Linked DNA regions of Homo sapiens: regions 2, 3, 4, 5 and 6 are each linked to region 1. Evidence: promoter capture Hi-C in 16 types of primary human blood cells and fetal thymus (Javierre and others, 2016). All regions are on one chromosome and are shown on one strand. Each heading gives the region's core, a stretch centred on a gene start or on the middle of the fragment in contact. The rest is flanking DNA. Distances are from core to core; before and after follow the strand shown. Region 1 holds the start of BANF2 (BANF family member 2). Region 2 has its middle 62 kb from the start of SNORD17. Region 3 overlaps BFSP1 (beaded filament structural protein 1). Region 4 holds the start of LOC105372548 (a long non-coding RNA gene). Region 5 has its middle 18 kb from the start of DSTN. Region 6 overlaps LOC107985440 (a long non-coding RNA gene).

Region 1 (3,554 bases), core at 555-3,054:
CACGCCATCGCATTCCAACCTGGGCAACAAGAGTGAGACTCCATCTCAAAAATAAAAAATAATAATAAAAAAAAAAGGTGTGTGGTACCTCCCTTGCCTTGTTCCCACTCTTGCCATGTGATACACTGGCTCCCTGTTTACCTTCAGACATAATTGTCAGCTCCTTAAGGCCTCACTGGAAGCAAAGCAGGTGCTGGCACCGTGCTTCCTGAACAGCCTGCAGAACTGTGAGCCAATTAAACCTCTTTTCTGTGGAAATTACCCAGCCTCAGATATTTCTTTATAGGAAGAGAATGGCCTAGCATAGGCACCTACGGGTGGGTCCTGTGGGTCCTCTGGGACATGGAACAGGACATGACTCCAGGTTATTCCACCTGAGCAGGGAGGGAGCTGGGTTATTTATCTACCAACTGATAATAGTCATTGAATGAGGACATTCTGCAACTTGCAGCTGCCCGCTTGTAGGCAGGGTGGACTCCAGCAGCTGGCAAAAGCCCCCAAGCAAAGATACGCAGGTACTGGCAGCTGGGAGTCAGATTACCTTTGTACAATGAAGTTGTAAGGCCAAGAGGCTATGGGCAGGGCACTGACAACGTCAGTTGTGCTTCCCCAAAACGTGGCTCAGTTCTGGCAATGAATAGATCCTCAGTAAAGCGTGCTGGTTGAACCCAGAGAGCTCAGCCAGCTTTGGCCCCAAAGCTACAGCTCCTGTTTATTCTCCAGCAACCCCTGAATACTGCCATCAGCTGGCAATACTATTTCAGGATCAAACCTAAGATACCAGCACCCTTACATGTTCTTAAAGTGTGTAGTCTCAGAGCAAGCAGCCTCAACGTCATGTGGGAACGTGTAAGAAATGTGAATTATTGGGTTCTCCCCCAGACCTAATGAGTCAGAAACTTTGAGAGTGGGGCCCAGGAATCTGTATTTTAACGAGTCTTCCAGGTCATTCTAATGCAACCTACAGTTTAAGACCCACTGTTTTGGACTCTAAAATTTAGGGCCACCCAACAGTTTCCAAAGCGAAGCCGTTTGCTCTTGGTTAGAACTCCTCCATCCCCAATCCCAAGCACCAGCAGCAAAAGGGAATGGAATCTCTGGAAACATTTTATACTTTGCCCCCTTTTTTGAGTTTTTCTTTTCTTTTTAGGCTTAGTAAATATACATTGTACCAAGTTATCAATTACCAACAATGGAAAGTAGCCCAGGCATATATGCTATAGAGGATAACCTAAAAGACACCTGTGTTGAATTTAACTTGAAGGTGGGAGGATTTATATTTCTGCTTGTTTTCCTGAGCTAATATTTAAGTTACTTCTCTTTCCTTGAGTCCCTACCAGGTGGGCAGTAGGGGGAAAGTCACGGGTATACTGGTAGAAGAAAAAGCTGCCCTGGAATTTCAAGTCCATCACAGAAGATGTGCAAGGAGCTGGGGGTACCCACGGAAGTCACTTTGTGCAGGAAAACTGCATGAAGGATGGACTTGGTTTAACTGAATTGACGCAGGCCAGGTGAGAATAGGAACCGTGGCAGCAAGTGGCAGCAGGTGGATTCATAAGCAGTCTTCCAGGCTGATGTTTTCTGTACAGCAGACATCCCTCACTCTTTCCCAGCAACCCCAGCTGAGAACAGCACCCAGACAGGCTGATTTCTTCTGGAGAGGCCTGAGGCTCTTGCTCCTGCCCTGCCCTGTGCCCTGATGCCAGCAGCCACTGCAGCCCTTTTTGTGCTCACCCCCGACCTGTGGTGTGACATCACAATGTAGTCCATTCAGGATCTTGAGACTGATTTGCCCCATGGGCCTAAGACATAAGCTGAACCTCTGGCCTGCAGTTCCAGATCCAAGGTGACTGAGACAAACTGCCAGCTGCCACTGGCTTATCAGGAGCACCTGGTGAGTATTCAGAACTTTCCCAAGCAGCATGGAAGGAGATACAGCCAACAGCTGGCTGTCTTAGCACTTTAAGGTCTCATTCTCACACAGGTTTAGATGAGCCAAACCGGTGGACAGGAGTTCACCAGGTAAGCCCCAAACTCTTCCTAGGAAAGCTGACTCACCTGATGCACACACCCCTTCCCAGCCTCTTCCTGCTGTGTCACCATCTGCGGGAGGTGGTACTCTAGTCTCCCCTAAGACTCGGCTTGCCACCTGCACCAGCTCCCTGGGCAAAGGTCACCTGTGTTCTTAATAGAGCAGAGAGGCCAGGCTTTCAGATGGCAAATTCACTAGAGCATCACTTCTAGCCCTAATTGAGGTCAGGGACAGCCATTGGCCAAATGACACACCACATAGCAGGATGAGCAGAGGTAGCTGACACAGCCACCTCCCGTCCAAAATGTGAACGACGGTCCTTCCTTTCTGTAAGAGGCCTTCCTGCTTTGGCTGTTTTTAAATCCACCTCCTGGTGACCTGCTGGTATATCAAATCACTTCCTTTCCTTTTGGGACAGTAAGAGAGCTTTAGGATCGTGACGGGAAATAAGGAGATGGATTAGAACACCAGGAAAGTGGGCAAAATCTAAGGTAGCGGGGACAGGGACAGAGGCCAAAGCCATCTCTCAAAGAGGATGCTGGCTCTTTCCATATGGGCCACCTGCACTCGGCTGAGGGTGGTTTGAGACTCAAGGCCTTCTATAACAAACAGTAGGGACCCGTTCTGGGCCCCAGGAGGCACAGCTGCCTTCCCTACCATGGCCCATTCGTGTTTTCCCACAGTCTGTCTACGGTCCATTCACCATCTGTGAGTGCCAACACGTCCACACAGCTGCAGCTGCGTCCCTTCTCCCACAAAGGAGTGGCTTCTATAGGGACCCCATGATTTTAAGAAGGCTCCTGGCTCTCCTTGACTGTGTAAGGTAGAAAGGGAGGTGGTGGGGGGTGGATCAGAGAAATATTTTACCCTTAGGCTTTGCCATCCCTCCTTAGTTTTATATGTGATGGGCTGAAGCCAACCTCTGCTTCACACACAAATCCAAGACGCCAATGGTTCACCAAGCATGCTAAGAACATTTTAGCCTATGTTAGGCCCCACTGGAAAAGGAAAAAAGACAGTAGAGGGGCCGGCGCTAGAGCAACCTGTGGTCCCCGTCCTGCAGCAGGTTTAATTTGGAGAGGAGAAAGGGAGCAAACGCTGAACCTCCCGTGCCAGACCCACCAGCTATGTTATTGCTCTTAATTCCGACCTCTGTGAAGCAGGTGTTCTCAGGTTCATTCTACAGACATAGAAACTGAAGACTGTTCTGTGCTGGTGCCACGTCTAAAGAGGGTCATTAACCTGGAGCATGCCTTCACTCTCTATCGACTATCCCCAACATTAGAGCTCTCTGAAAAGAGAATGGGCTGCTTTGCAAGGCAGCAAGAGTGTGCAGGCCACGGCTCTTCCATCAGCATGGAAGGGAACGGGATTCTTGTGATCAGCTGGGAGCTGGACCAAAAGACCTTTAAAGGCTGTTTCCAAATCCAAGATTGTAGGTTTCTGGGTGTTAGTACTTTGCCCACCCTCTGCGATTGAACTCAGGTGGGTCACGCCTTAAGGACGGCTGCAAACTTTCTGT
Region 2 (3,554 bases), core at 336-2,835, 200 kb after region 1:
ATCATCCCACTGCACTCCAGCCTGGGCAACAGAGTGAGACTCTGTCACAAAAAAAAGAAAGAAAGAAAGATGTTCCCATTTTTTTTTCCTTTGGCCCAAGATGGTGGAAATGAAAGATGGCTTACTGGATTGGGAAATGGATTGGACCCTAAATCATTCTTTATCCACTCGTTCCACAGATACTGATTGGGCCTCTTGGTAGCCAGGCGGCGGGATGATGAGTAGTGCTGGAGGCCACTTAGCTGAGTTGTGCACACAAAATAACACAATGCACAAAAGGTTTATCTTCAGGAACTCATCCCGGGTAGAACAAGTGCTCAGCAGAGATCTGGGCTGGTGAAGGCAGCTTGCGGTCCCTGACTCTTCTGAGAACCTGGGGATCCAGGTTCAGGGAGACCAACGCTATTGGATACAAATCTTGAATTTAAAGAAATTGGGATGTAAATAATGATGCAATCCCCGAGGCTCATGGAGTACCCCAGTGACAGGAGAGGTTTTCCATGGGATTCAAGCAGGCTAATCAGCAAGACAATCTGGGCTGTCTCAGTGAGCCGTGGCCTGAGGCTACTTGTGGGCCACCTGTCCAGAATTGGAGGGGTCCCAGGGTCTGATGTAGCTTCAGAGAGATGGAATAGTAAAGAGGATCATGCATTGCAAAGTCCACAACAGCCCCCCAAAACAAGGACAGTCCCCTTATTTGATGAACTTTTGTTGGGTTCCTGTCTTGTGCCGAGCTGTGTGCTAGGTTCTGGGGAGACAGAGACCAATAAGCTTCAGAGACCTGAGAAGTAGGGTCCTTCTCTTCTTCATCACTTTCTTCACAAACCCACTTCAGTTTCCTCTTAACTCCTGGCATGAGTAAGGTGCTATTTCATAACCCTTTTATCTTTATTAAAGGTGTCAGGTATCCAATAGGAAAAAAAATGCACAAATGAATTTAAAAGGCATTCACACAAAAGGATATCAAAATGGCCAGTAAGTTCATAAAAAGATGCTCAACATCAGCCAGGCGCGGTGGCTCATGCCTGTAATTCCAGAACTTTGGGAGGTCGAGATGAGTGGATCCCTTGAGGTCAGGAGCTTGAGACCAGCCTGGCCAACATGGTGAAACCCTGTCTCTACTAAAAACACAAAAAATTAGCCAGATGTGGTAGCACATGCCTGTAATCTCAGGTACTTGGGAGACTGAGGCAGGAGAATCATTTGAACCCAGGAGGCGAAGGATGCAGTGAGCCGAGATTGCGCCAGCACACTCCAGCCTGGGCAACAGAGCGAGACTCCGTCTCAAAAAAAAAAAAAAGATGCTCAACCTCAATGGTTACAGGGAAATGCAAATTAGACCCACAATATGCTGTGACTATACACTCCCTAGAATGGCTAAAATTAAATTTCTGAAAATATCAAGCATTGGTGAGGATGTGGAGGAAGTGAACTCTTACATGCTGCTGGTGGAAGTATAAACCAGTACAAGCACTTTGGAGAACCATTTGGCAGTTTCTTCTAAAATTAAACATACACTCACCATGTGACCAAGCAGTTCCACTCCTGGGTATATACCCTGAAAGAAATGAGTGCGTACACACACCAAAAAACATGTACAAAAATACACATTGCTGCTAAATCGATAACAGCCAAAAACTAAATACAACTCAAATGCCCATCAATAGAAGAATAGATAAATACATTGTGGTGTACAGCACAGCAAGAAAAATGAATGGGTTGCTCTTACGTGAAATATGAATGAATCTCAAAAACACAATATTGATCACAAGATATCAAATAAGCCAGGCACAGTGTGGCTCACACCTGTAATCCCAGAACCTTGAGAGGCTGAGGCCAGAGGATCCCTTGAGTCTAGGAACTTAAGACCAGCCTGGGCAACATAGGGTGACCCCATCTCTACAAAAAAATTTTTTAAAAATTAGCTGGGTGTGGTAGTGTGCACCTGTAGTCCCAGTTCCTCGGGAGGCTGGAGCGGGGGCACCGCTTGAGCCCAGGAGTTCAAGGCTGCATTGAGCTATGGTCACACCACTGCACTCCAGCCTGAGTCACAGAGGACTAAGACCCCTTTTTAAAAAATAAAAATAAAAAATAAAAAAATAAAAGGCAAAACTTATCTACATATGATGAGAGAGGTCAGAATAGTGTCTACTTGTTTAGGGCAGTGGGAGATGGGGATTGAGTGAGAAAGGGCCTGAAGGAACTTACTAGAATGATGGAAATGTTCTCTATCCTGATCTTGGTGGTTGTTACATGAGTGTATACATAGGTAAAAATTCATTGAGCATCCACTTAAGATTTGTGTATTTTACTATATGCAAATTATGCATCAATAAAAGAGCAAAAACAATCAAAACTCTTAGGTGACCACACCTGATATAAGCATGGCTGATACATTAAAAAGCTTGCATATATTACAATGAATACCATCATTTGGGAATTTAATATAATTTTGTAACAGCCTCAGAAACAGTCATATTCCAGAGGCCCTTGGCAACAGCTTTGTTGCTTACAGCTCACCAGCACCAAAAGGGACCCGTCGCTTTCCAACCAAGGGGGCTGTGGCCCTGCCCAGAACTCTCAAGGGATCCACCTTTCTGGGTCGAACTCTCACAGCTCCCAGAGTACCTGGGGCCAAGCACGTGAGCTGCCAGCAGGCCTTAGCACCCTGGGATGCCAGACCTGCTCAAACTTGGAGAGGGTCCTACAGGTCCTTGGAGGAAAATTACAAGCCCCAAGTACACTGGACACACAGAGTTTGCCTGTGATGAAAACTTAGATGAAGGAAGAAGCCCTTTAGGAGGGTCTTTCTTGTCTTCTGCAGATGTGCGGCTCTAGCCGTGCTGCAACGCAGACCATGGACCAGGAGCTCCCAACCTCAGCTGCACAGCACAGGGGAGCATTGGAACATGGGATGCCCGGACCGTCTGACCCACACCAACTGAATCAGAATCTTTAATATGGTGTTTCTCAGAGGGCCCCCTGGAGCCACAGCAACATTGTCACCTGGGAACCTGTTAGAAATGCACATTCTCAGGCCCCACTTCAGACCCACTGAATTCTGTGGCCAGCCCCAGCAATCTTTGTTCTGACTGTTCTCACAGTCCCTGCCAGGGGTTCTGATGCATGTGGAAGTGTGGGACCTAATTAGAAACTGCATTTCTAGCAAGTTTCCAGGCGGTGCAGATGTGGCTGCTCTGGGGACTACACTCTGAAAACCACCAGAGTCTAACTGTCTAATGGGTAGAGCCAAGCTCTGGGAGAGAGTGGGGGAAATTAAAAGCTACCCAGGTGAGTGGCTCTGATGCAGGTGAGAGTAATTAGCATTGCCATAGCCTCTCATCGTCTCATCTGACAAGAGGTACACAGCTGGAGAGGGAGCTCACACAGGTGAGGGCGTTACAGGAGAAGAAATACCATCTCCTCAATTTGACCTGTCTGTGGTCTCTTCATTTCTATAACACTGCAATTTGGGGTTCCTGGTACGGCAGAATTTAGGTTCTAGGTGCCTAGCCCTGAGAATTTGTTCTGGCAATATTGAAGCTGGAGACGTT
Region 3 (3,554 bases), core at 441-2,940, 170 kb before region 1:
TGCACACCGCGTGGGGTAACCAGGGGCAGTTAGCGGAATAGGAGTCTCCCAGCCCGAAGGCACCAACCCCAGCCCCTACAGCCTTATTCCCAGCCACCCCAAGGATGAGGGAATTATATCCTAGCCTATCTATAACCCAAGTGCAGCAGTGGCAGAGATGGGAGACTGCCCTGCACAATCTACACCACCATTAACCTGACCGTACTTGGATTTCCTATAGTATTTTATTTGCTGACACATGTAATTTGTCAGTTTTTCTGGATTATGTCATTTAATCCTTACATCACCCCAGAAGAAAGCAGTTATTGTTAGTGCTGCATTAAAGATGAGGAAACTCAGGCAGATGCTCCGCACACTTTTCCCTCCTCCCAGCAGCATCACTCCCCACACAGCGATGGCCTCCTCTGGGCAAATGGGTGGGGCAGGCTGGACGTGCCAGGGAGTCAGGGCCTCTGGGAGCAGCCCACAAACTCTGAATGAGGCAAATTGGAGCATAAGTACCCCAGCTCCTTTTCTGCTCGGCTGGGACAACTGAGGCACGTCCCTCTGGGGGAATTTTAACCCTAAAGAGAGAAGATTCCTTCCTAAATGACCCCTCCCCTTGTTCCCTATAAGGTGACCCCCAAATGCCCATTCTTGCTGTCTTCAGGAGTTAGAGCCCTTGATGCTTGGCAAGCACAGGACTGCCTAGAAGGGAGACTACATTTTCCAGCATTCCTTGCAGCCAGGTGTGGCCATGTGACTAAGTCCTGACCAATGGGATGGAAGCATAAGTCTGCATGGCAGCTTCCAGATACCTTTAGTTAAGTAATGGTGTATGTGTGCCCTTTGCTTCTCATTTTCCATCCCTCCCTCCATCCTGCAGCCAGAAACATGAATGCTGCCTTCCTGAAGGCCACACAGAACCTTCTGTGTCCCAAATACTGTACAGTATCATACTAAACTGCTTAACCAGACCTTACACAAGTGAGAAACATTTTGGATAAGCCAATGACATTTTGGGTAAGCCAGTATCACTTTTTCTGTTTTTTTCTGTATGGCGGGGGGGGGGGGGGGGGGGCTGGTAAAATATGCATAACATAAAATTTACCAACTTAACCATTTTAAGTATATAGTTTGTGATAGTAAATATATTCATAATGTTGTGAAATCACCACCAACATCCATCTCTGTAACTCCTCATCTTGCAAAGCAGAAACTCCGTACCCATTAAATACTAACTCCCCATTCTCCCCATCCCCAGCCCTGACAACCACCATTGTACTTTCTGTCTCTATGAATTTGACACGCCCAACTACCTTATGTAAGTGGAATCATACAATATTTTTCTTTCTGTGACTGGCTTGTTTCACTTAGCATAATGTCTTCAAGTTTCAACCATATTGTAGCATATGTCAGAATTACCTTCCTTTTTAAGGGTGTATAATATTCTATGTATCGACCACATTTTGTTTACGTATTCCTTTGTCAGTGGACACTTGGGTTGCTTCTACATTTTAGCTATTGTGAACAGTGCTGTTATGAACACGTATATGCAAGTAGCTATTCAAAACCCTCTTTCAATTCTTTTGGGTATATGCACAGAAATGGAAATGTTGCATCATATGGTAACTCTATTTTTTAATTTTTTGAGGAACTGCCATACTGTTTTCCACAATGGCTGTACCATTTTACAGTCCCATCAACAGTCCATAATTTCTCCACATCCTAACAAACACTTATTTTCTGTTGTTTTTTGTTTTGTTTTGTTTTTTATAGTTGCCATCCTAATTGGTCTGAAGTGGGTCAATGTCAGTTTGGAGTTTCTGTCCTTTATAGTTGAAAGCAATCCTAATTAACACTGAGCCCAATCCACAAAGCATAGTTTTCTGTGCCCTTGCATGCCCATGCCATGGGTTCAAGTCAAGTATTCTGCAACCATGAAAGGTGCTAGAAAACCACACCACCATGTTCTCAGAAGGAAAAGTCATGAACTGAAGGAAGAACAATTATGAATATGTGCAATGTGCACGCATTCCCAGATCTAAAACCATCTGCGAAGCTGAGTTCTATCTAGGAAACTAAACATCTCTGCATAAGTTTTACATTTCACATCAGGATGTTACATTTAGTAGTTTATTTTGTGTGTTGCAATAACAGAGCCAGAAATTAGTTTTTAAATGTATAATTAGCTTTGAGAATAAAACTTAATAAAATCTAATTTTCTTATTGCTCTTTCCTGCTGGAAATATCTAAGAGTTTCCATAGCTTAAGAACATGTTTGAGGATCAACACATTAACCTGATATTGTGAGTAATTTTCATGCTGTAAAGACAAGTCTAGATATTATATTAAAGAGAAGTGATTTCCGGGCGCGGTGGCTCACGCCTGTAATCCCAGCACTTTAGGAGGCCGAGGCGGGCAGATCACGAGGTCAGGAGATCGAGACCATCCTGGCTAACACGGTGAAACCCTGTCTCTACTAAAAATACAAAAAAATTAGCAGGGTGTGGTAGTGGGCGCCTGTAGTCCCAGCTACTTAGGAGGCTGAGGCAGGAGAATAGCGTGAACCCAGGAGGCAGAGCTTGCAGTGAGCCGAGATCACGCCACTGCACTCCAGGCTGGGTGACAGAGCGAGACTCTGTATCAAAAAAAATAATAAAATAAAATAAGAGAGAGAGAGAGAGTGATTTCACTACAAAGAATTCATGATGTGTATATTCATATAAGTATATTCATAAAGTGAAAAAACTGGCTTCAATTAACTGTTTTACATAAATTATTTTTAGTTTTCAACAATTTGAATAATTGACTCTGTTGTTGTATTTTGATAGTTTTGTTTTTATTTCATTCTTGTTTTATTCAGTGTTTTGTTTAGTCTTTGACCTGTTAAAGACCTGATTTTGAAATTATTCAACTGCCAGGTAGAGACTATGCCTAGCACTGGCATGGAACCAAGCCTGCACATACTAACCCATTGCTGCATTATTTTCCCCTGGCTTTAGGTAGCCATCAACTCACCTCTGGAATGTAAACTCCAGCCTGGCATGTATGTGTATGTGTGTGTGCCTATGGATGTGGATGAGCATTTCTATAATGATTTTCAGTTCCCACTACCACAATCCAAATGTCAAAACTTCTCCAAGGGGGCAAAGGGAGGGAATAAATTAATATGAATTTTAAATAAATCACAGAGCCTGATGGAACTGCTTCATGATGGGCATATAACTCAGAACCAAGTGCAATCAGTAAAGACCAGGAAAACCCAACATGGCCTTTCCTTCAACTAGGACTCATGGATGTCATGCTTACCAGCCAAAGTACAGTAGACTATGGTCTAATGCCAACACAAAGGCCATCCAGGGAATCTTGATGGTCCATCAAGCTGCCCCGGATGTCTGAGCCACAGGGCACTTTCCCCCTTTGCTTTGGAGAACATGAGCTTCATCTGAATGAGGTCCTATTTCTGGGCCTTAGGCTGCAGGAGTCCAAGAACGGATTATCTCAAGATACAGTGTTCCCGAAAGAGCATAGGCCCAGGGTGAGAAAACCCAGGTTCAAGTTCTGCCACCCAC
Region 4 (3,554 bases), core at 753-3,252, 170 kb after region 1:
ACCAGTCTGGGAAACATGGTGAGAGCTCGTCTCTACAAAAAAATATTTTTTTTTAATTAGTTGGGCATGGTGTGCACCTGTGGTCCCAGCTATTCTGGAGACTGAAGTGGGAGGATCGCCTGAGCCCAGGAGGTCAAGGTGGCAGTGAGCCATGATCATGCCACTGTACTCCAGCCTGAGCAACAGAGCAAGAAACTTTCTCAAGAAAAAAAAAAAAAATGATATGAAGAGGAGCACATCTGGCTACAGAGGCTACAGAGGCGAGTGTGGGCGGAAGTTTGGAGGGAGGAAGGAACCAGGCGTGTTCTGCTGGCAGGGTGCACTTTTCTGCCCAGAAAAGTGGGTTTGTGAAGGAAGCAGGTGACAAGGTTGGAAATGTAACTTGGGACATCCTTGTGGCTTTTTACTGTGGCTCTCAGCTTCTTAACAGTCCTGGAGAAAGAGAGGTAAGAGGATAAATAAAGATGGTGTAAATGGTGTGAAGATAGTTATCTGAAAAGGCTGCTGGGAGGTGCTGGTCTTTTGTTCTGTTCATAGGAGACAATTTTGCGTGCCTACCTTTTTTGGGAGTGTGATCCCCCTTCTTGCTGATGAGGAAGAAGCAAACTATCAGGTTTGAGACAGATAGCCCCCCCACTTATGAGAGGGCGACAGAATTTGAACTCAAAAAGACCCAACCACAGTCAGGTAGTATTGACCCGGGTGTGGTATTGACCTGGAAGTGGTATTGACCCGGAAGTGGTAAGAACATATAAAACTGGAGCCCTGGTTGTTACCACGGCAACCCGTAGTCTGTTGCATGCTGAGTTTGGGGGAGCAGAAGAGTCTCGCGGGGATAGTCAGTGCGCAGGGAGACTAGCACAGGCCGGCAGAGAAGTGACCCAGCCCCGGATTGCCTGGTAACCTTCCGTTCCCAGGAGGCTGCTGTGAGGCTCCTCTGGTAATCAGTTCCCTGAGTCCAGGGTTTCCTAATAGGAGCCCGTCTCCCTCCGGTTCACTTGAAGGGCTCTCTGCTTCTTTCCCTCAAACAGGCTTCATGGAGTATAATGGACCCACAGCCATCTCCTTCCCCAACACCAACTCTGCCTGCATTTTAGGCCAGGTTTGTAGGAGAGTTGAATGAAGATTGAATGAATGAATGATGAAAAGTACAAAATGCCATCACTTCACTTCTTTCAGGAAGACCCAGGACACTCTGCTGCATCCTCCACCTGTTTGTGAATTAAATGTCCATGATGGCTTTTACTAAGCACTTACTATGTGCCAGGCACTGTGCTGAGCTCTGCACCTTTAAGAGGCAGCAAGTCGTGACTGGTTCAGAGCTGGCTCAGAGCTGCCTGAGTTGGAAGCCTCGGATAGGAAAATGGAAGCTTAAAGAGGTTAAGCCCTGGCCAAGCACAGTAGCTCGTGCCTGTAATTCCAGCACTTTGGGAGGCCAAGGCGGGAGGATCACGTGGGCCCAGAAGTTCAAGACTAGCCTGGATAACAAAGTGAAACCTCATTTCTACAAAAAATTTAAAAATTAGCCAGGTGTGGTGGCACACGCCTATAATCCCAGCTACTCCGGAGGCTGAAGCTGGAATATCGCCTGAGCCCACAAGTTCAAGGCTGCAGTGAACTATGATCATGCCACTGCGCTCCAGCCTGAGTGACAGAGCAAGACCCTGTCACTAAAAAAGTTGGGGAGGGGGGTCAAGCCCTCTGCTGAGCTAGTAATAGTGGGACTGAGGTTCAAGCCCATGGCTGATTCCAGATCCTGTTTACAGAGCCGTTATGTGACGTAACTAAAGTGTTGATTATGCATCGACTAGGCACACCATGCAAGGTGCTGCGGATGCTGCTGTCACCAACACACCCAGTCCTGGCCCACAGGGGGCTGCCACCCCAGCCCCCAGTGCTCTCCCTGGATCCTGAATCCTAGCTATCCCTTCAGAGCCACCCCTCTGGCTTCCAAGCACCTGCACTACCCACTCCCACCCCTCCCTGGAAGGGATGGCGCAGCCTGGGAGCCAGCTGCTCTGGGGGGCTCAGACCTGTGGGCTGGATTGTCCATGTGTCAGGGAAGGAAAGGGAAGCCCATGGCAGGAGGGACACCCTCTTATGGGTGGTAGCAACTCCATGGAGCCCAGGCTGCATCGTTCACTGAGGCTGCTAATGTTTGAACCTATCTTTGAATAAGATCCACCCTCTTGCACTGGCAAGTCCAAGCTGTAGTAAACCCTGAGGGAGACCCACAGTCCAGCTGCAAGGCCCTGCCCCACTCTTGGCCGCTGGCAGAAGCTCCAGGCTTGCCGAGGGGTGCCACGTAGCAGAGGCAGTCTCCGCCTCTAGCCCATCCCACTCCTTCATCTGCTTCTCGTTAGCTTCAAAAGTAAGGCCTGGCGCTGTGCCCTGGGCAGGAGGGAGAGCTTGGTGTGGCCGCTCAGAGCTTCACCTCCCTTGCCTGGGGTTTCTCTTCTCCTGCCCCATCCATCGTCAGCACAGCTGACTGCTTCTGGGGCTCCTCTGTCTACCTTCCCCACGTTCCAGCACCCCCCTTCCCCTGCCCCTCTGTAGCAACCGCCTCCCTGCAAAGCCCCACCCACCCACACACTCATACACACACCCCTCTCACTCCCCTGGCACTCAGTCCCTCCAAGCTTCCTTCCTTATCCCTTTAGAGCCCTGCAGCCCTCAGGCAGTGTAGCCCAGAGGTTCAAGGGCATTCGCTCTGGTATCAGAAGGGTCTGGGTTCAAATCCCTTGTGCACTGCTTGCTGGCTGTGTGACTTTGGGCAAGTTGCCTAATCTCTCTGGTCCTCAGTTTTTGCATCTGTAAAATGGGGATGATATTAACAGTACCTACTTCATAGGGTTATCTTGAGGATTAAATAAAATAGTACAAGTAAAGGTCCCAGCATAAAATCAGGGCTGATCCACCTTAGGTATAAAAAGGATAAATTAGGACTTGGAATCTTACTCTTCCTAAGGAGACCTGCAGTTGGCTAAAGGAGGACCTGCCTTCAGGGACAGAAATTCAGGTTTTGTTTTAGAATAGGCCTGAGGGAGTAGGAAGCTGGAGGAACCTGTCTCTATATTCTGGATACCTCAAAGACAGTTAAATTCTGCCGTGGTGAGCATTTATTGAGCACTATCTGTGTGCCAGGCACTGTGTGGGGAAACCACAATCCCTGCAGATCAAGGAGCTCAGATTCTAGTGCCAGAAAAAAATGTAAAGAGAAAGGGCCACCATGCCACCCACTGAAGACGGCAAGGGAAGAGGCCAGAAAGTGCTACGAACAAGGAGGAAACAGCTCCAAGTTGTTGGGCAGTCGGGCGCTGGGTCTCAAAGGAGGGCCACTTGCATGGACAGAAGGTACCCCTCTTACTGAGCACTGGGGGCCTGGTGGGTCCCCTGTGCTCTCCAGGAGAAGCAGGCAGAATTCCTAAGCCCCGTTAGGCCAATGAGGAAGTTGAGGCACCGAGAGTAAGGGGCATCTGCTTCCCCACCAGCTGACTTCTATTCTAGAAAGGAATGTTCTGCACAACCCCAAACCGTCAGCTCTTTCTGCTTGC
Region 5 (3,554 bases), core at 709-3,208, 150 kb before region 1:
CAGAAAGCAAGAGGAGAAATGTCTCATCTTTGTTTTAAATTTTTCTTATATAGGGTCTTACCTATATAAAAGTTAAGCTATATCTACCTGTTGGGGGGCTGACAGTGTCACAAGATTTATTAGTTTGTTGATTTAAAGAAAACTGTTCTTGGCATTTTAGTGCATAAGTACATCAAAGCATGACTATAATCCTTTTTTTTTTTTTTTTTTTGAGACGGAGTTTCACTCTTATCTCCCAGGCTGGAGGGCAATGGCGTGATCTCAGCTCACTGCAACCTCTGCCACCCAGGTTCAAGCTATTCTCCTGCCTTAGCCTCCTGAGTAGATGGAATTACAGGTGCCCATCTGCCCACCACCACACCCGGCTAATTTTTGTATTTTTAGTAGAGATGGGGTTTCACCATGTTGGCCAGGCTGGTCTTAAACTCCTGACCTCAGGTGATCCACCCGCCTCGGCCTCCCAAAGTGCTGGGATTACAGGCGTGAGCCACCGTACCTGGCCAACTACAATCATTTTAAAAGCATGTATTATTATGCAATACCAGGACATCTGGACATTTTTTTCTGTCATAGTTTATCCTTGCAGGCATTGTTAAGCTGTTTCCTCAGCTGTAAACATCATATAACCACAGGTCATGATAGACAAGAAATGTGCCTTGCCAGTTTTACGATGGAGTTGATTTTAAAATGGTGCCACTCTGGCTCTCCTATGCTCCTGCTTCCCTAACATGATGACATGCAGTCCAGAGGTAGGCAGTTCAGGGCGAGTGTGGTGGAGCCTTCAGTCCCAGGTTCATTCCAACTCTTCACTCTGCTGGCTTTAGTATGTGGCTTAGTGCCTGTATTAGGCCATACTTGCATTGCTATAAATACCTTAGACTGGGTAATTTATAAAGAAAAGAAGTTTAGTTGGCTCACGGTTCTGCAGGCTGTACAGGAAGCATGGCACCAGCATCTGCTCGGCTTCTGAGGAGGCCTCAGGGAGTTTTTACTCATGGTAGAAGGCAAAGGGGGAGCTGTCTGGTCACACAGTGAGAGTGGGAGGAAGGCAGAGAGGTGCCACACACTTTTAAATGACCAGATCTCTCAAGAGTTCACTCACTGTCACAAAGACAGCACCAGGGAGAAGGCGCTAAGCCGTTTATGAGTGATCCACACCCACGATCCAATCACCTCCCACCAGGCCCCTCTTCTAACATTGGGGATTACAATTCAACTTGAAATTTAGAGGTGACAACATCCAAACTATATCAGTGCTCAAGCTCACAGATGGCTGCTACCCTTAGGTATCACATCTGTACCTGAAATCACTTGTACATCTACACCACCAATCTTATTCATGTATTTATTCAACAAATATGTATTGACAACCTACCCTGTGCCAACACTCTTCTGGGCCTTGGGATACAGAAGTGAAAAAAATAAAATAAGGCTGGGTGTGACGGCTCACACCTGTAATCCCAGCACTTTGAGAGGCAGAGGCGGGTGGATCACCTGAGGTCAGGAGTTCAAGACCAGCCTGACCAACATGGTGAAACCTCGTCTCTACTAAAAATACAAAAACATTAGCTGGGCATGGTGGCGGGCACCTGTAATCCCAGCTATTCAGGAGGCTGAGGCAGGAGAATTGTTTGAACCCAGGAGGCAGAGGTTGCAGTGAGCCGAGATCACACCATTGCACTCCAGCCTAGGCGACAACAGCAAGACTCTCTCTCAAAAAGAAAAAAAAAGAAGAAAATAAAAATCCCTGATCCCTGTTCTTGTGGAGCTTATATTCAATTGGAGAAAACAGAAAGTAAATAAGATAAATAAGTGAAAAATAGAGTATAATAAGTGGTGATAAGTGTTACAGAGAAAAATAAAGAAAAGGGAACTGGGAGGATGGTGGGGCATCTGGTAATTTTAGACAGGGTGGTCAGAGAAGACCTCACTGAGGAGGTTACATCTGAGTAGAGAACGGAAGGAAGTGATGGGAAAGCCATTTGGATTCTTGAAGAAAGAGCGTTCTAAACATGGGGAAGAATAAATATAATAGGATGTGCCTGGTTTGTTCAAGGAAGGGTGCAGAGGCCATCATGGCAAGAGTGGGGCAGGTGAGGATAGAGTGCGGGTCAGATGAGGTCAGGAAGGGCAACGAGAGGACAGATCCCACGGGATTTCTACAAATCCTCCATAAGGATTTGGCTTCACTGTGAGAGTAAAGGGAAGCCTTTGATAATTTTGGCAAGGAAGTGGCATAAACTGACCTACAACTTAACAGCATGGCTTTCATGGCTGTGCTGAGAATAGCAGAAGCAGAGAGACCAGCCAAGAGACCATTGCAGTAATCCAGTTTAGAGGTGATGGTGAGTTAGACCAGGGTGATAGCAATGGAGGTAATGAGGAGTGATAGAATTCTATATATATTTTGAGGGTAGAACCAACAGAATGTACTGATGTGGGATGTGAAAGAGAAGAGACAAGGATAAAATCTGAAGCTGGAAGGATGAAATTGACATTTACAAGATGGGGAAGACTGGAAGTGAAGCAGATTTGGGGGAAAAATATCAAGATTTCTGTTTTAATTATGAGAAGTTGAGATGTCTATGAAACATCCAAGGGCAAGTGTTGAATAGACAGTTGCATCTACAAGTCAGAAATCTGGAGAGAGGTCAAGGACAGACATAAATTTGGGAACCAACAGCAGAGAGAAGATATTTAAAGTCATGAAACTGAATCAGAAAACTAAGGGAATTAGTGCAGAGAGTAAAGAGAAGAAGTCTAAGAACTTAGTATGCATGGGGACTCTGGAGATCAGCGGTTAGGAGATGAAGAGGAACCAGCAAAGGAGCCTGAAAAGGACCAGATAGGTAGGTGGAAAATCAGGAAGAGTGTGTGGGATTCCGGAAGCCAAGTAAGTAAAGTGTTTCAAAGTGAAGAGAAGATATGACTGACTATGTTGTATGAGATGAGGACTAAGAATTGGCCATTGGATTTAGCAATGTGACGTTCCATGGTCATATGAGTAAAAGCAGTTTCAGGAAAGTGGTGGGGAAGAAACTATGAGGATGAAATGCCAAACTCAACAAGAACAACTAAAATCCATGGAATAAAATTCACAGGGTAGACAAAAAAACAAAAACAAAAATCCTCAATGAAAGAACAATTACTTCAATCAACAACTTCAACAAATATTTAGTGTTTATCATCTATGTGCCAAGTGACATTCGAAAAATTCATTGGCAATTCAGTGATGAAGAAAACAAAGTACCTATACTTATGGAGCAGATATTCTATTAGGGTTAAAGAGACAGTAAACAACTAAACAAATATACAGTGTGTCAGTTGCTGATAAGTGCTTCAAAAATCATACAGAACAGAAAGAGGATAGACAGTGGAGGCAAGTGGGGTGGCAAACTACTTTAGATAAGGTGATCATCAAGGCCTTTCGGATTTATTAGTAGAGAGCTCATCTTATACCAGTTAGAATTGGGATCTTTGAAAAGACCTGTTAAAAATATATAAACATATATATATATATATATACACACACACACACACACACACACACACAC
Region 6 (3,554 bases), core at 405-2,904, 130 kb after region 1:
TTTTTATTGTTATCTTAACCTTCATCAGATTTTATTATTTATTTATTTTTTTAAATTTATAATCATCTTCTTGGAGAATGATTCACCAAATTTTAAAATCCCAGACAATATAAACTAAGTCTTCCAAAATACTCTGTATATCCTACTGAACATCATTTCCATCCCTCCCACTGAGAATTATAGTGAACAGATGCAATCAATGTTTAAATTATGTATCTATGAATATGTAATTTATATATCCATACTTACAAGGCTGCCACATTGCATAACTCCAGGGAGGCACTTTTATGTTATAGGCTATGCAAATGGTGTCCCCTGGAGGTATGCAGTACGCAGCTCATACAACTGAACATGGCCTTCCTGGATATGGGTGCTTGGTAAGAGCATATCTTTTATTCGACCTCTCTAGTGCATACTCATTTTAGGGCAGTGGCTCTCAATCTGCACATTATAATCACCTGGGCAGGCCACACTGCCAAGCACTAAAATCTGAATCACCTCGCGGTGGGACCCAGGCATTGGCGTATTTAAAGTTCCCTAGGTGATTTTAACATGTAGTCAAGGTTTAGAACCAGTACTCTCAGGGGATGCGTACAGAATCCTTGAAAAGGGTTTTGTCTTTGGTAAAAGTGTAAAAATAATTGGCATTCATGTATAGAAAAAAAATAGAAAGTTGCAGGAAACTCTAAAAAACAAAATAAAACAAAACCAGTTCCATGCACTGAAGAAAATCCCTGTTGGGGTTTTTCTTTCTTTTCTCCATGAATATCCTTTGCCCCCTGCAGTCACACAGTGCAGAAAGCTTTGCTGGGCTTCACCCTGCCTCTCACTTCAGGTGGAAGGTGGAGAGGGATCATGGGGCTGTTGTTGGTGAACTTTGCTTTTCCCTCTGGCCTTAGGCCAAAAATGTGAGACTTTTTTGTTTGCAGAGATTGTCCTGTTCATCCCTTAAACAACCTTTCCTGGCCCAACGGACACTGTAGGACTTAGCTGGGTCAATGTCATGGTCTATACCTTCTGTGGCCTAAGCTGGCTCCAGACATTGGAGAGAGAATTGTATTAGCCTTGCTGGGCCTCGGCCCTGCCTTCTCCATGGGACATCTCCAGTGCAGGACCCTGGCTGATGGCCAGGCCTCTGCACATCCATTCTGTCATTATCCGGAGCAACCGCCCGCACCTCAGCCCCAAGTCTCCCACCTCATTTTGTTGGGTCCCTTGTTCCTGACCGGATACCTAGTCTGGTTCTCCTCTTCCTCTCCTAGGAACTTGCTTGCTCCTTTGGGAACTCTGAGCCTCAGACCTGGCAGAGCAGGAGTGTTACCCACTGGCAACATCCAGCTGGCCCCATCGCTGACCACCTACGACCTTTGGGACGTTTGGCTCCTTATCTTGACCCTGGGCTTGACCTGCTATTGCTGCACCATCAGAGAGAACCTTCCTCAGCAGCCAGCCCCGGAGTTCCTCTACTCCCACCTCCACCCTGGCTCTGGCCCCGCCTTCTGTGATGTGAGGGATTCATGAGTGCATTTGCTCTCTCCACAAATGTTTACTGACAGCCAATTATGCACCAGGCACGGCGCTTGGTGCCCACATTAGAAGAGGTTCCTCCCTCCTGGAGCAGACAGCGAATACACTGTCCCTGAGAGGGGTGTTACCAGGTGATAGGACCCTGCCTGGGATTTGGCGACCACTTCCCAGAGGAAAAGGGGCTGGGAGCCAAGACATGCAGGATGATGAGTAGCTGATGGGGTAAGGGAGCAAAAGCCTTCCAGAGAGAGGGAATGGCACATCCAAGGGTCTGTGCGGAGGCTGGAGGGAGGCCATCGTGGTGGGGTCTCTCCAAGCCAGAGAGTAGAACCAGGTGAGGCTGTGAGGTGGGCCGGGCCAGAGCACTAGATCCTGTGGGCCAAGCAAGATCTTAGTTGGCCTTCCAAGACCCTTCCACGGTTTCTAGGCAAGAGAGTGACACAATCAGACACACCCACTGATCAAACTATCCAGCTACAGATGCAGGAGACACCATTAAACACTCCCCTTGTATCATCTGTGGAAGGAGACAGACACTGGGAATGTGATTTGCCTGCCAGGATGGGAACTGGGTCACCCACTGAGGGGCAAGAGAAGAAGAAAGACTCCAGTGTGTGTATGTTCGTACACCTTCTTTGCCAGGCATGGTGGCTCACTTCTGTAATTCCACTGCTTTGGGAGGCTGAGATGGGAGGATTGCTTGAGGCCAGGAGTTCAAAACTAGCCTGGGCAACATAGTGAGACCCCACCTCTAAAAAAATAGAAAACAATTAGCTGAGTGCATTGGCACACATCTGTAGTCCTAGGTACTCAGGAGGCTGAAGTAAGAGGATCACTTGAGCCCAGGAGTTCAAGGCTGCAGTGAACTATGATTGAGCCACTGCACTCCAGCCTAGAGGACAGAGTGAGACCCATCTCTAAAAAGGACACACATGCACACAAATAGAATAAAAATTATGATTAATCTTGTCCCTTCAAAAAAGCTTGACTTTGCTATGGTTTGAAGGTTTGTCTCCTTTGAAATTCATCTTAAAACTTAATTCCTAATATGGCAGCATTGAGAGGTGGGGCCTTTAAAAAGGGACTGGATCATGAGGGCCATTCGTGTATTAATAGGTTCTTGGGTTATCATGGCGGTCGGTCATTAAAAAGCCAGCTTGACTCTTGCTCCTACCTCTGCCACAAGATCCCCTGCAGCACCTCAGGACTCTGCAGAAGAAGGCCACCAGCAAGAAGACCCTCACCAGATGCAGCTCCTCAGCCTTGAACTTCCCAGTTCCAGAACTGTAAGAAATAAATTTCATTTCTTTACAAATTACCCAGTCTCAGATATTCAGTTATAGCAACAGAAAACTGACTAATACAAGCCCGAATCTCTTCCTGAAGAGCAATTAGTCAAATCCAAATTGAGGCACGGTCTGTCAAACAAATGACTGAATGCTTTGAAATATCAGGGTCATGAAAGACAAGACAGGCCCAAAGGTGGCTCCAGGTGAGAGGAGCTTGAGCGGAGGCACAATGGAGGGAGGCGGGTCTTGACTGGATAAAAAGGGACATGGACATGACAAGGACAACTTGCAACATTTGGACATGGGCCATGTAAAGAGACCAGGCTTGTATCTACATTAAATTCATTGAGGGTGGTCATGGTTTCATTCTTATGTGAGAAAATGCTCACTATCTTAGAAAAGACATGTGGAAATATCTGGATAAAATCTCAAGATATCTCCGCAACTATTCTCAAATATAGAAAGAAACAAAAAGGCCTGGTGCAGTGGCTCACATGTGTCATCCCAGTGCTTTGGGAAGCCAAGACAGGGCGATTGCTTGAGGCCAGGAGTTTGAGACCAGCATAGGCAACATAGTGAGACCCCATCTCTATAAAGAATAAAAAAATTAGCCAGCTGTGGTAGTGCACATCTGTAGTCCCGGCTACTCAGGAGCCTGAGGCAGGAGGATCGCTTGAGCCAGGAGTTCAAGGTTGCAGTGAGCTATGATCATGCCACCATACTCCAGCCTGGGAAACA

The links. The method cuts DNA at HindIII sites, captures the fragments that hold promoters and counts their contacts. A CHiCAGO score of 5 or more calls a contact.
Region 2: a fragment that was not itself captured here is called in contact with the fragment with the promoter of BANF2 in region 1 in 10 of 17 cell types (total B cells, M1 macrophages, naive B cells and 7 more); the score reaches 12.2 in total B cells.
Region 3: a contact is called between a fragment that was not itself captured here and the fragment with the promoter of BANF2 in region 1, in 1 of 17 cell types (fetal thymus). The highest score is 5.0, in fetal thymus.
Region 4: a contact is called between a fragment that was not itself captured here and the fragment with the promoter of BANF2 in region 1, in 1 of 17 cell types (M1 macrophages). The highest score is 5.2, in M1 macrophages.
Region 5: a fragment that was not itself captured here is called in contact with the fragment with the promoter of BANF2 in region 1 in 1 of 17 cell types (neutrophils); the score reaches 5.3 in neutrophils.
Region 6: a fragment that was not itself captured here is called in contact with the fragment with the promoter of BANF2 in region 1 in 2 of 17 cell types (naive B cells and M1 macrophages); the score reaches 5.3 in naive B cells.

The regions. Positions count from the first base shown.
Region 1 is chr20:17,698,162-17,701,715 of GRCh38, forward strand. BANF2 (BANF family member 2) reads left to right here and starts at 1,805. Exons shown (of 4, transcript NM_178477.5): 1 at 1,805-1,894. LOC105372547 (a long non-coding RNA gene) reads right to left here and starts at 1,698. Exons shown (of 2, transcript XR_937294.2): 1 at 1,338-1,698; 2 at 1-19. The HindIII fragment of the contact is 11,340 bases long and covers 1-3,554 here.
Region 2 is chr20:17,899,552-17,903,105 of GRCh38, forward strand. No RefSeq gene overlaps it. Among named protein-coding and RNA genes, the nearest start is that of SNORD17, 62 kb to the right of the region's middle. The HindIII fragment of the contact is 1,633 bases long and covers 770-2,402 here.
Region 3 is chr20:17,525,101-17,528,654 of GRCh38, forward strand. All of the region lies in intron 1 of BFSP1 (beaded filament structural protein 1), which reads right to left. Among named protein-coding and RNA genes, the nearest start is that of BFSP1, 4.5 kb to the right of the region's middle. The HindIII fragment of the contact is 4,339 bases long and covers 1-3,554 here.
Region 4 is chr20:17,871,822-17,875,375 of GRCh38, forward strand. LOC105372548 (a long non-coding RNA gene) reads left to right here and starts at 815. Exons shown (of 4, transcript XR_937297.3): 1 at 815-899; 2 at 1,032-1,102. RefSeq lists an enhancer at 1-33. The HindIII fragment of the contact is 1,269 bases long and covers 1,369-2,637 here.
Region 5 is chr20:17,550,271-17,553,824 of GRCh38, forward strand. It overlaps a transcript of BFSP1 not described here. Among named protein-coding and RNA genes, the nearest start is that of DSTN, 18 kb to the right of the region's middle. The HindIII fragment of the contact is 3,996 bases long and covers 1-3,554 here.
Region 6 is chr20:17,826,969-17,830,522 of GRCh38, forward strand. LOC107985440 (a long non-coding RNA gene) reads right to left here. Exons shown (of 3, transcript XR_001754511.2): 2 at 2,702-2,811. Among named protein-coding and RNA genes, the nearest start is that of BANF2, 130 kb to the left of the region's middle. The HindIII fragment of the contact is 1,708 bases long and covers 801-2,508 here.